Regions from separate parts of the Homo sapiens genome. Here all the other regions are linked to region 1. The links are contacts of gene promoters, found by promoter capture Hi-C in blood cells and fetal thymus (Javierre and others, 2016). All regions are on one chromosome and are shown on one strand. The core of a region is centred on a gene start or on the middle of the fragment in contact, and the rest is flanking DNA. Distances in the headings are between cores, read along the strand shown. Region 1 holds the start of LINC01949 (long intergenic non-protein coding RNA 1949). Region 2 overlaps RASA1 (RAS p21 protein activator 1). Region 3 overlaps LOC101929380 (a long non-coding RNA gene).

Region 1 (3,538 bases), core at 835-3,334:
ATGAAAGTTGCGGTGAGCCGAGGTTGCACCACTACATTCTACCCAGGGCTACAAAGTGAGATTTTGTCTCATAATAGTAATAATCTCAAAAGACTGAAATTATATCAGGTGCTCAGATAATGTTACTTTGTTATAATGTTGATGGGAAAAAAAATTAATTCATGGTTGAGGCTAATGTCTTTGTGAAATTTGCACCTTTTCCCCATGTCTGTGTGGATTTTCTCCAGGTACTCCAGTTTCTTCCCACATCCTGAAGATGTGTATTTCAGGTGGGTGGGCATGTGTCAGCGATCTCAGTCAAGGTGAGTGTGGGTATATGTATGAGTGTGCCCTGTGTTGGGATGGTGTCATGGCCAGGGTTGCTTCCCACCTTGTATCCTGAACTGCTGAATGGGCTTTGGCCTCCTGTAACCTGAACTGGAGTAAGTGGGTTGGAAAATGAAAGAATAAATGAATACAAATTATTATAAGATAAAATATAAAGTATTTGATAATCATACAAATGCAAAATAATAAGAAATGTTGTATGAAAGTGCTTAGAGAGTCTGCCTTATTGAATATTGTTTGTTTTTGAACTGTGTGTTGGTAGGAGGTACTCCTGACAATTTTCACTTTACAAACATTTATTTCTTGATTTAACCTACCACCAGGATGACGGCTGTCACTCACTGATTCACCAAAAATTGGACAAATTGCTTACTTATTTTTGTTGATTTTTCTTAAATGTATGTATAGCTTACATTTATATCAATATTCAACATTAGAAGTGTTTCAAGTCTTCACTTAGAAATTTGTTGATGTTTTTGTGATACAAATATGCCATAGGAACTAATTCTTGTTTATATTAATTAGCCTATAGTAAAACTGGTTTTGTTACATGGCATCTCACTTGAAGTTGAAGTTTCCAAGACCCTATCAACAACGTTGAGAACTTACTGTCATAGGTTGAAAAACTGTACACCAGGAACCGGACCAAAATAGATCTGACAGTAATATTGATATTAGAAAACAACTTTAAGTCTAATAATGATTTTTCTCTAAAGAGGTTGATTACTTCATGATAGAAGGATCATGTCACCATGATGACACAGACTGTTAGTGCACATCAATATCCATTTTGTCCTCTTCTTTTTTGGCATACAACCAAAACTTACATAGGCTTTTTATCATTTTACTGGGCCTATGTAACTGAGTTTTAGCCAGTGGAATATGTCCAAGTGACATTTGCCACTTCTAGGTCTGGCACATTAACACTTGATGTATTACATTTCAGACCCTCTTATCATTCTGCAGTGTGTTTGGCGATCTGTTGTTTAAGATCTATATGCACTGGTTACTGTTGCTTGCCTTCCATTCCTACCCTTACTAATCAGATTCCTATTATAGCTACTTCTGTCCTTGATTCATTTTGTATATTAGATGTGTGTGTGTTCATGTGCATGCATGCACCCTCACATGTAGGTGTATATGGGAGTGGTGGTAAAGACAGGATATTTCTTCAGTTCATGGGATTTTATTTCAGGAGAATTCAAACATTCACGTATTGGAGAAGATGACACATTTCTTGAATGTCTTGGGCTTTGAGCTGAATGCACTAACTAGAAGGGACTTCAGATTGTCCTCCTTCGGGGGAGGTAAGTATATTCTTCATATACAGGTAAGAGTGAAATGATAGAAGAATGTTCCTCCTCTCCTTTTCTTCCTGGACAACAGATCAAATATTTCTCAGATCTTTTACAGCTGAATTGGAGTCACATGGACAGGTATGATCTTAAAATATAAAAAATTATTTTAAAATTACATGCTAAAATTTTATAAAAATAAATGCTAAAACTAACTTAAACGGAAGCATTTGATTAAAAAATTTATCCAAAAAAGTTTGAATTTTATATGAAACAGGATAGAAGATGAAAAAGCTAAAGAAATAAAATATAAATAAATTATGGCTGGGGACAGTGGCTCACACCTGTAATCCCAGCACTTTGGGAGGCTGAGGTGGGAGGACTGATTGAGGCTAGGAGTTTGAGACCTGTTATTTGAGGCACATGGGAAGGAAAGTTTTCTTTGAGATATTCCACATTTTATAATATTCTTCAAGAGATTTACAGAGTTCCTTGAGTGAATTGTTGGTTTGTTCTTAATACTGAATTTCCTATTCAAATTTATTTAGAAGTTCATTTCTTACAGTGATCTCATCTCCTATTAAGATATTCTTCAAGGTAGGTTCTTGGCCAGTTTCTCAATGACAGATTTTTAAAAATATTGTTAATCTTTTTATTAATATGAGAACATAATTGTTCCAGATCTGGAGGCCATCCTTTAAGCTTCTTGCAACAGTCTGGGAGCAAAGAGTTTACTCGCCACTGGGTAGTGGGCCATGGACACCCCAGTCTCCACCAGAAGTTCGGGATTGCAAAATGGGACTCTGGCAGCAAATTTCAAACTGTATGCCAGACCTGGCCCTTTGCAGGTGGGCATCACTAAAAATTTAAATTACCAAAATTGACTCAAGAGTAAATCTATGTCTGAGGAGAAAGCCTTTGGAAAAATTGAATTAGTAAGCAAAAACCTACCCAAAATAAATAACAGTAAGTCTAGAAAATTTTACACAGGGATTACCAACAAACATTCAAAGCACAGAAAAATCTCTTTAGCACAAAATGCTACAAAATACAGAAAAAGAGGAAAATTCTGTAGTTTCTCTCATGAAGTTAATATATTCTAGTTAGCTGAACTAGAAAAATAAGAGAAAGAAAAATTATAGGTTAATCTTCCTTATGAGTACATGCAAGTATCATAAGATGTTGACAAATTGAATCAAGCATTTTAAAAAATGCATTATGATCAAATATGATTTATCCTAGAAATAATGTATGAGAGTTATAAAATTCCCATTAACATTAGGAACAAGCATTAATACTTATTATCTCCACCAATAATCATCATTGCTCTGGAGTTCCTAACCAATGAAATAAGAAAGAAATAACCAGTTATATGGATTAGGGAAGATCAAATATTGATTATTTGAATATTTTTTTTTATAGAAAATCCAATAATTGTACAGCTGAAGAACTGGAATAGGAGAGTTAAGCAAAGTTTCTACATACAAGAGCAAAGTGGTCAAATCAATAGGTTATCTGTAGGCCAGTGCTAATTACATTGACATGGTGGCCTTAAAATTTTTACATGCAATTCATAAATCAGTTTCACTGATATTACTTTACCAGATATTGATATTCTAATGTTGTAATTATACAACTGTATTATTGTGTCAGAAATAAAATTAATAGACCAACAAAACAAAACTCAGAACAGATTCACATATTTGATAACTTGGTGTATGACAAGTGTGACATTAAAATTCAGGAGTAAAATAAAAAAATAACAAATAATGCCGGGATAATTGGTTAGTCACATGGGAAAAAGTCAGAAAGATCTCTGCCTCACTCTATTTACATGGAATATACTTCAGATGAAAGAAACTTAAATACAAAGAGCAAAACTTTAAGACTTTTAGAAAAAGATAGGAGAATTTATG
Region 2 (3,790 bases), core at 498-2,997, 37 kb before region 1:
GTTACACAAGTGTCTAATATGAACCCAGTTTAGCAAGTTATTCCTACAAAAAACACTTAAAAGAGGTGAGGGAGATCTCTAAGTCTTTCCCTTAGCTTGAGACAGATGTATTAGCGAAATTTTTAAAGTAAAATGTTACAACAATGAACACACATTGAATACAGAAAATTTGCTGGAGTAACAGCTTATCCATAGGATATTCCATGGCTACCATGGTCATGTGTAGGATCTTTCCACACTATAATAATCAGACATGCATTTAAATATGCTTTCCATCTTTCAACAGAGGTACAATCAAAAAAGATAAAGGTCACTGACTAACAAAGAAAGAGGTAAAGTAAGGCAAGATTTTCTCTCCCACAGTGAAAGAAATTAAAAGAATGAGGACCTTATTTCTCAAGCAGCAGACATGCATTTAATCTGTTCCAAAATAATCCAAATCCATTTTTAAAGATGTAGAGTTACCCATGTATTAGTCAGTTTGGGCTGCTATGACGAAATACCAGAGTCTGGGTGGCTTAAACAACAGAAATTATTTTTTCACAGTTCTGCATGCTGGAAATTGAACTATCAAAGTGCTGGCAAGCTTGGTTTCTGGTCAGGCCTCTCTCCTTAGCTGACAAATGAAGGCCTCCTCACCATGTCCTCACATGACCTTTTCTTGATGCACTCATACTCCTGGTACCTCTTCTTATAAAGGTACCCGTCCTATAGGATTCACCAGCCACCCTTATGACCTCATTTAACCTTAATTACCTCTTTTAAAGGCTGTATCTCCAAATTCAGTTACATTGGTGGTTAAGGCTTCAACCTATGACTATGGGGGACAGGGGGGAACTATTAAGTCCAAAATGCCAGTTACTGCCAGCCCTGAAGTACGTTAAGTTTTATCTGGGTGCATATATGTGTGTACATTCTACGTAATGGAAAGGGGCAAGACAAAATAAAAAGCATAGTATTTACATTAAAATTCCAGCTCTATCACTCAGTTTCCTCAACAATGAGGATGATGCCCATTCTCACTATATCATTGTAAGAATTAAATAAGATAATCTATATAAAGTACCTGACATCTAGCAAATGATTAGCAAATACTGAGCCTTTGCTTCTAGTCCTCTCTAAAATTTAAAAAAAAATGAATTATAAATATTACTCAAATCTAAATATATGTGAAACAGTATGAGAATCGGATTCTGTCCCAGTTCTACCACTACCTAGTTATATGAACTTAGCTAGGGTGTAGGGTGGAGTGAAGCAAGTCACTCTACCTAAGGCTACTTCTGTATCTAAGCAGAGAAGCTTCCCTCTGTAACTAAAACTCTATGTTACACATAACAACTTGACTACAATTTGAAACACAAATGTTACAAAAGTTAATCACACTTTCTCACTGTAATAATCCTAAATGAATGATACTGAAATTTCCTTCAAGAGAATTATGGTATGAAATTTCAGTATCATTCTTTCATTTACTTTCATTCTTTCACTCTTTGGCAACTATCCTCTGAATTTGAAAAATTTACCTGCACAACGTATCTGTAGACTACTTTTATCATCTTATTTCCCTACCAGTAATGCCTCATCTTCCAACTAGACTGTAGAATTGTATATTTCTTTTTGTCCCCCATACTGTTCATTATTTTACTCACTAAATCACATAACCACTAAAACACCTAAAATCATCATACCCTAAATCCTGTAGAGATGTGACAAGACATACATAGTTATCAATAAGTTGTATCTAATAACAACAATTTTTAACGCAGCACAAAACTGAAATGTACTGCCAGTGATTTCAAGGTAACACAGAAATACCTGCATATTCAAACAATAAACAACATCCGTATTCAGTATTTTTGGTTTAAAATTAAGGTAATGGTAGCCAAAAAGCAACATCTATTGTGGAGAAATTTGACTCATTTAACAAAAGACAACTTAGCTTGCTGGGCCTGAAGGAAGAACTCATAAGTATTTGTCCTATCTCCCAGCCTGTCCCTCACTACTAGTATTCTATTATCTCGTATTACATGAAAATAAGTAATACACATGGTACTGTTACTTTGATGCCCTGAGGAAAGCTCAACTTGCTGTATTCATGCCATTTTATAGTCCCCTCCCATATTTAATGCACACTGGGTTATGTGACCAGCACTCACCATTGGAACATTAGCAAGGATGAGGAACACAGAAGCTTGATAAATACCGGCACACTAGGGCTTGGAAAGGTCTTTCACGGAACTGCCATAGCTGCCATGCTATGAAGAAGGCCAAGCTGGCTGGGCACAGTGGCTCATGCCTGTAATCGCAGCACTTTGGGAGGCCAAGGTGGCAGATCACGAGGTCAGGAGTTCGAGACCAGCCTGGCCAACATGGTGAAACCCCATCTCCATGAAAAATACAAAAATTAGCTGGACGTGGTGGCACGCACCTGTAATGCCAGCTACTTGGGAGGCTGAGACAGGAGAAATGCTTGAACCCGGAAGGCGGAGGTTGCAGTGAGCCATACCACTGCACTCCAGCCTGGGCGACAGGGCAAGACTCCATCTCAGGGGGGAAAAAAAAAAAGAAGGCCAACCTTCTTCAAGTGGAGAGACGACATGGGTAGGAAGAGAGAGGGAAATGCCCAGCCATCTACCAGCTGCTCCAGCCATCCCAGTTGAGGCACTAGATTTATGAGTTAAGAAGCCACAGTGGACATTATAGCCAACAGATCACATGTGGAGAAGTCACCATAAAGCCATACACAAATTTTAGAATCAAGGGCAAATACACAATTGTTTTAGCCACTATGTTTTGGAGTGCTTTATTATGCAGCAATAGATAACCAAAACAATACAAATAAACCAATTAGAACTGTTCCTGTTTGGCAGTAAGCAACAACAACAAAAAATGTCAGTGGTAACCATTGTTATAGTTAATAATCACTATAAAAAATCTTCTTCCCAAAAGGTACTTTTCTGGGTATTTAAGTGTTCTTAAAGGGACTCTGTTCATTTCACCAATGGCCAGTAAAGAGAGAGAAGTAAAGCAACCAGAAAGTCTACTCTTCGTTTTTCCTTTTCCCTTCCTAATTTATGGCTGTCCTTTTTAGCTTTGCCAGTAATGTTTGCCTGTTTTCCCCAGAGTGGCTAATCAATGATCCATACCGATTCTAGCATTCAACTGTGCTCTGTACCTCAGTCACTACAGACATCACCGTCAACTTCCCTCCAGACCACAGGTAACTAAAAGTTCTGTAGACCAGACTCTTCACTAAGGGTGAAAAGTTTAAACTCATCTAATTCATAATTATGTTTTCCTGATAGAATCATTAAGCGAAGAGCATCAGAACCAATAACCTCTTGCTCAGAAAATAAATTAAGTAGCAGGAAAAACATACCTGCTATTTTTCCTCAAAGAATTTACTGATCCTAATTACACAAATTTCTTTTTCTTTTAACCCTCATGACCTTTGCTCATACTTCACTCGTGATATTTATCTTAACCTAGCCTGAATCACAGTAATTGGTTTACTTAATTTCCTACTAGATCTAATACTCCCTTTTCTCCCATTGAGAAAAGGGGCATTTTACTCTTGCAACCCTTGAAGCACCTACTATATTTCTCTGCTACTTATACAAATACAGTAAAAAATATGAGTTCTGGTCATCAATCATTGTCCGTAACTAATCTTAGCAAGTCTCACCCCCATTTTTATTAAGAAACAATGGCTCACCCATATGTATAATGCAATCAGTGACAAAGTTAATGAATGCTACATGTTCTAACATTAACCTTCACCAATTATTTG
Region 3 (3,418 bases), core at 422-2,921, 57 kb after region 1:
ATTATAACTGTCCAAAAATCTTGTTCTAAAGATCAGATATTCTGAATTTTTTAAAATCTTGACAGAGTTTATATTTTATTAAATTTCTTCACAAAGATCTAAACCCTTTCTGGTATAAACCTGGCAACGTGCTAAATAGCACTGTCTGATAAATATAAATTTAAACCACTGAAGCAGAGTCTGAACTGAGAAAGAAAATTTGATGTAGGAGAGCACAGTTCCTCTTCTGTCTTAGAGAGTAGTGTTGCAAGATTTCCTTTCTTGTTGGGATAACAGAAGGCAGTAGGAATGAATGGAAATTGGGGTTACAATACATCATGATTTCTTGTGATGAAAGAAAAGCAGTGAACATCTTTGGGTCTCCATTTCTTTAACTTTAACATGGGGAGATGGACTCAATTTGTAAATTATATGATCTGTCACTCGGGTTCATCGTGTTCTCCCCTTGTAGTGCAATAGGAATAGGGACCCACTGACTTTTCTTTCTTGCTAATGGTTGTTTTCTTTGGGGCAGCTGGATGAAGGACACAAAGGGAAAGAGAGGGTTTTCTTGTGAACTGACAATTTAGAGAGACTTTGATGGAGAGGAAGGATAAAAACACAGCTTTTAACACAAATTTGTGGCTAAGAGGTGCTCCTGCTTTTGAAAGCCAATTATAGTGATAAAAGAGGGAAAGGGATGAAGGTGAATAGTGAAAGGGCAGGATACCAAGTGTGTTATTCTACCAATGAGGTATGACACCTGAGAAATGGTCAAGTATTCATTGAAGCAATTCTAGGCAATGGAAAAAAAATGGAAGGCTTCTTGCTTTTCGAATATACAGAACAAAGAGGTTTACCCTGGAAATTTTTGGTAAGAGTCAAAAATTTTAGGCAGGATATTATTTTCTGACCTCCTCTCCTGATAATCTCTGACTTACTCATCTCAACATCAGCACCCTTTTGTTATTCTCAAACATGCCAGGAAAGCTTCACCCTGGGGCTTTGGGACTGTTTTTTTCCTTTCAGGGACTGCTCTTCCCCAGATATTCTTGTGAGCAACTCCCTCACCCTTCAAGTCTTTGCTCAAAAGTCATTTTCCCATTGAGACCTTCCCATTAGATGATGCAGCCAGTCTCCTTCCACTCCAGCTGATGATCCCTTCCCCCAAACCCTCCTCATCCCCTTTACTCTGATGTACTCCTTTTTTTCCCATAGCACTTATGATCTTCTAATACATGGCACATTTCAGTTATTTTCATTATTTATTATTTATGATCTCTTGCTTCCTTCCATCACCCTCCTTCTATTCCCAGAAGGAACACTAAGCTTCAAAAGGGCAAGGATTTTTTTTTCCTAATGTGCCCAAAATAACTAGTACAGTGTCTGACATGTGAAAGGTACAAAGGGTACTCAATTAGCATTTGTTAAATGAATAAATGAAGGCTTATGCAATCCATATGTACGAGAAGTACACATCAGCTAAGGAATGCAATAGAGAGATTTATATACGTCTGCTTTTCCTGTAGCTAGTAGGTACAGATACAGGAAGCAATATAGACTAAAGGTTTGTTTCGTTTCCTGGGAGAAAAACTACCTAGAAACGAATCCTTTTACTACCAAGTGCACTGTGTTTTCTTACATTAATAATAATTTGGTTTAGGGTGATGCTTCAGAGGTTTTTTCAGAGCCCTGTGTTATATGTTAGCTCATTTTAATCCCTATTTTACAATAAGAAAACCAAAGCTCAGAGAGGCAAAAACTCCTGTGCAACAAATGTGACCTCACAGAAGGGTACTCAGGCTTTCTGATTCCACAGCTTTCCCGTAACACAGAGAAGATATAAGGACTATGCCATTTAAAGGACAAGAGACAAAAAGATGGTTGTGTGTGTGTGTGTGTGTGTGTAAAATGGATGCAGAGTGTGATGTCTGCTCATAGACCAAGAGCAGAGCACAAGAACAGAGACAAATTGCTAGAGACAAAGGAGAGCACTGCCATTTACAGTGACCTACATTTATTGTTCAATATTCAAAACATGTTTTAAAAGCTTAAAATATCTAAAATATTTTCATACTGTTCATTTATGCCACAAAATTTATACTCTGTAAGGGGGTTTATTATTATTTTCTCTGTTTCTTGTAACTATAACCCATTTGAAACATTAACAACACTGGAATCTTGTCATTATTTCCAACAGTTTTCAGCTCTGTAGCCATGAATTTTCAATATCAGACAGCAGTTTTTGCTCTTTGTTAACATGTATTTATCACATATTTTATTTCTGGGATACACAGCTGTTCACTGTAAAACTATTCTTTTAAGTGTCAGCCTTCAATCATTTAGCCATTTCATTTCTATTTTTCCCCCTAGCAGCTGTTCTATTGATTGTCTAGAAATTGTTCATTCTATGTTTAAAATTATAACAGGAAGTGCAAAATTAAAAGGTTACATGTAAAAAAAGGATGCTGGAGTCATAAGAACACGAGCGCAGCTGTGCGCTTCCAAGAAACTGATATATATATATATCAGTTTGTGTGGAATATATATATACATATATTCCACGCACACACACACATACACACACACCATACACACATACACACACACACCATACACACACACACACAATACACACACACACACATTGGAAATGCATATGTACAGACATTAATATTGACTTTATTGAAATAATTCAGGAAAAATATCAAGTATATTAGGTGAATACCACATGCTAGTTATTTTGCTGAATGCTGAGGCACTGTTTCAGGAAGTTGGTATAATACTTATTATCCTTATTTTGGCTGGGCACTGTGGTTCACGCCTGTAATACCAGCACTTTGGGAGGCCGAGGTGAGTGGATCACCTGAGGTCAGGAGTTTGAGACCAGCCTGGCCAACATGGTGAAACTCTGTCTCTACTAAAAATACAAAAATTAGTTGGGCGTGGTGGTGGACACCTGTAATCCCAACTACTGGGGAGGCTGAGGCATGAGAATCGCTTGAACCCTGGAGGCGGAGGTTGCAGTGAGCCGAGATCACGCCACTGCACTCCAGCCTGGGTGACAGAGTGAGACTCCATCTCAGAAAATATATATATATATGTATACTATTGTCCTTATTTTATGGATGAGGAAACTGAGGTTCAGGGAAGCTAAGTAATCTGTTCAAGTTTCCACAGTGAGTATGTTGCAGAGATGAAGTTGGAATTAAGTTTTGTCCTGATTTCAAAAGGTTTGTTTCTCCTCCCCTTAATCTCTTTTTTCCTGAGCTATTTCAGACATATAAGAACTATACAGAGAAAATGAAAATGAAAATGTATGTACTTATTATAATTTAGCTTAAGAAGCAGAACATGGTAAACATAATTGGACCCCTAATTATATCTCCCAATCCCATTCCCTTGCTTTTCCTTCTGAATCCTGAATTTGTGTTTATCA

The links. The method cuts DNA at HindIII sites, captures the fragments that hold promoters and counts their contacts. A CHiCAGO score of 5 or more calls a contact.
Region 2: a fragment that was not itself captured here is called in contact with the fragment with the promoter of LINC01949 in region 1 in 1 of 17 cell types (M0 macrophages); the score reaches 6.6 in M0 macrophages.
Region 3: a fragment that was not itself captured here is called in contact with the fragment with the promoter of LINC01949 in region 1 in 3 of 17 cell types (M0 macrophages, M2 macrophages and M1 macrophages); the score reaches 9.7 in M0 macrophages.

Annotation. Positions count from the first base shown.
Region 1 is chr5:87,237,747-87,241,284 of GRCh38, reverse strand. It overlaps LINC01949 (long intergenic non-protein coding RNA 1949), which reads left to right and starts at 2,084. Exons shown (of 3, transcript NR_130914.1): 1 at 2,084-2,219; 2 at 2,304-2,470. All of the region lies in intron 2 of LOC101929380 (a long non-coding RNA gene), which reads right to left. The HindIII fragment of the contact is 4,009 bases long and covers 1-2,326 here.
Region 2 is chr5:87,274,352-87,278,141 of GRCh38, reverse strand. The region is part of intron 1 of RASA1 (RAS p21 protein activator 1); the gene reads right to left. Among named protein-coding and RNA genes, the nearest start is that of RASA1, 8.4 kb to the right of the region's middle. The HindIII fragment of the contact is 892 bases long and covers 1,302-2,193 here.
Region 3 is chr5:87,180,926-87,184,343 of GRCh38, reverse strand. All of the region lies in intron 2 of LOC101929380 (a long non-coding RNA gene), which reads right to left. Among named protein-coding and RNA genes, the nearest start is that of LINC01949, 57 kb to the left of the region's middle. The HindIII fragment of the contact is 721 bases long and covers 1,311-2,031 here.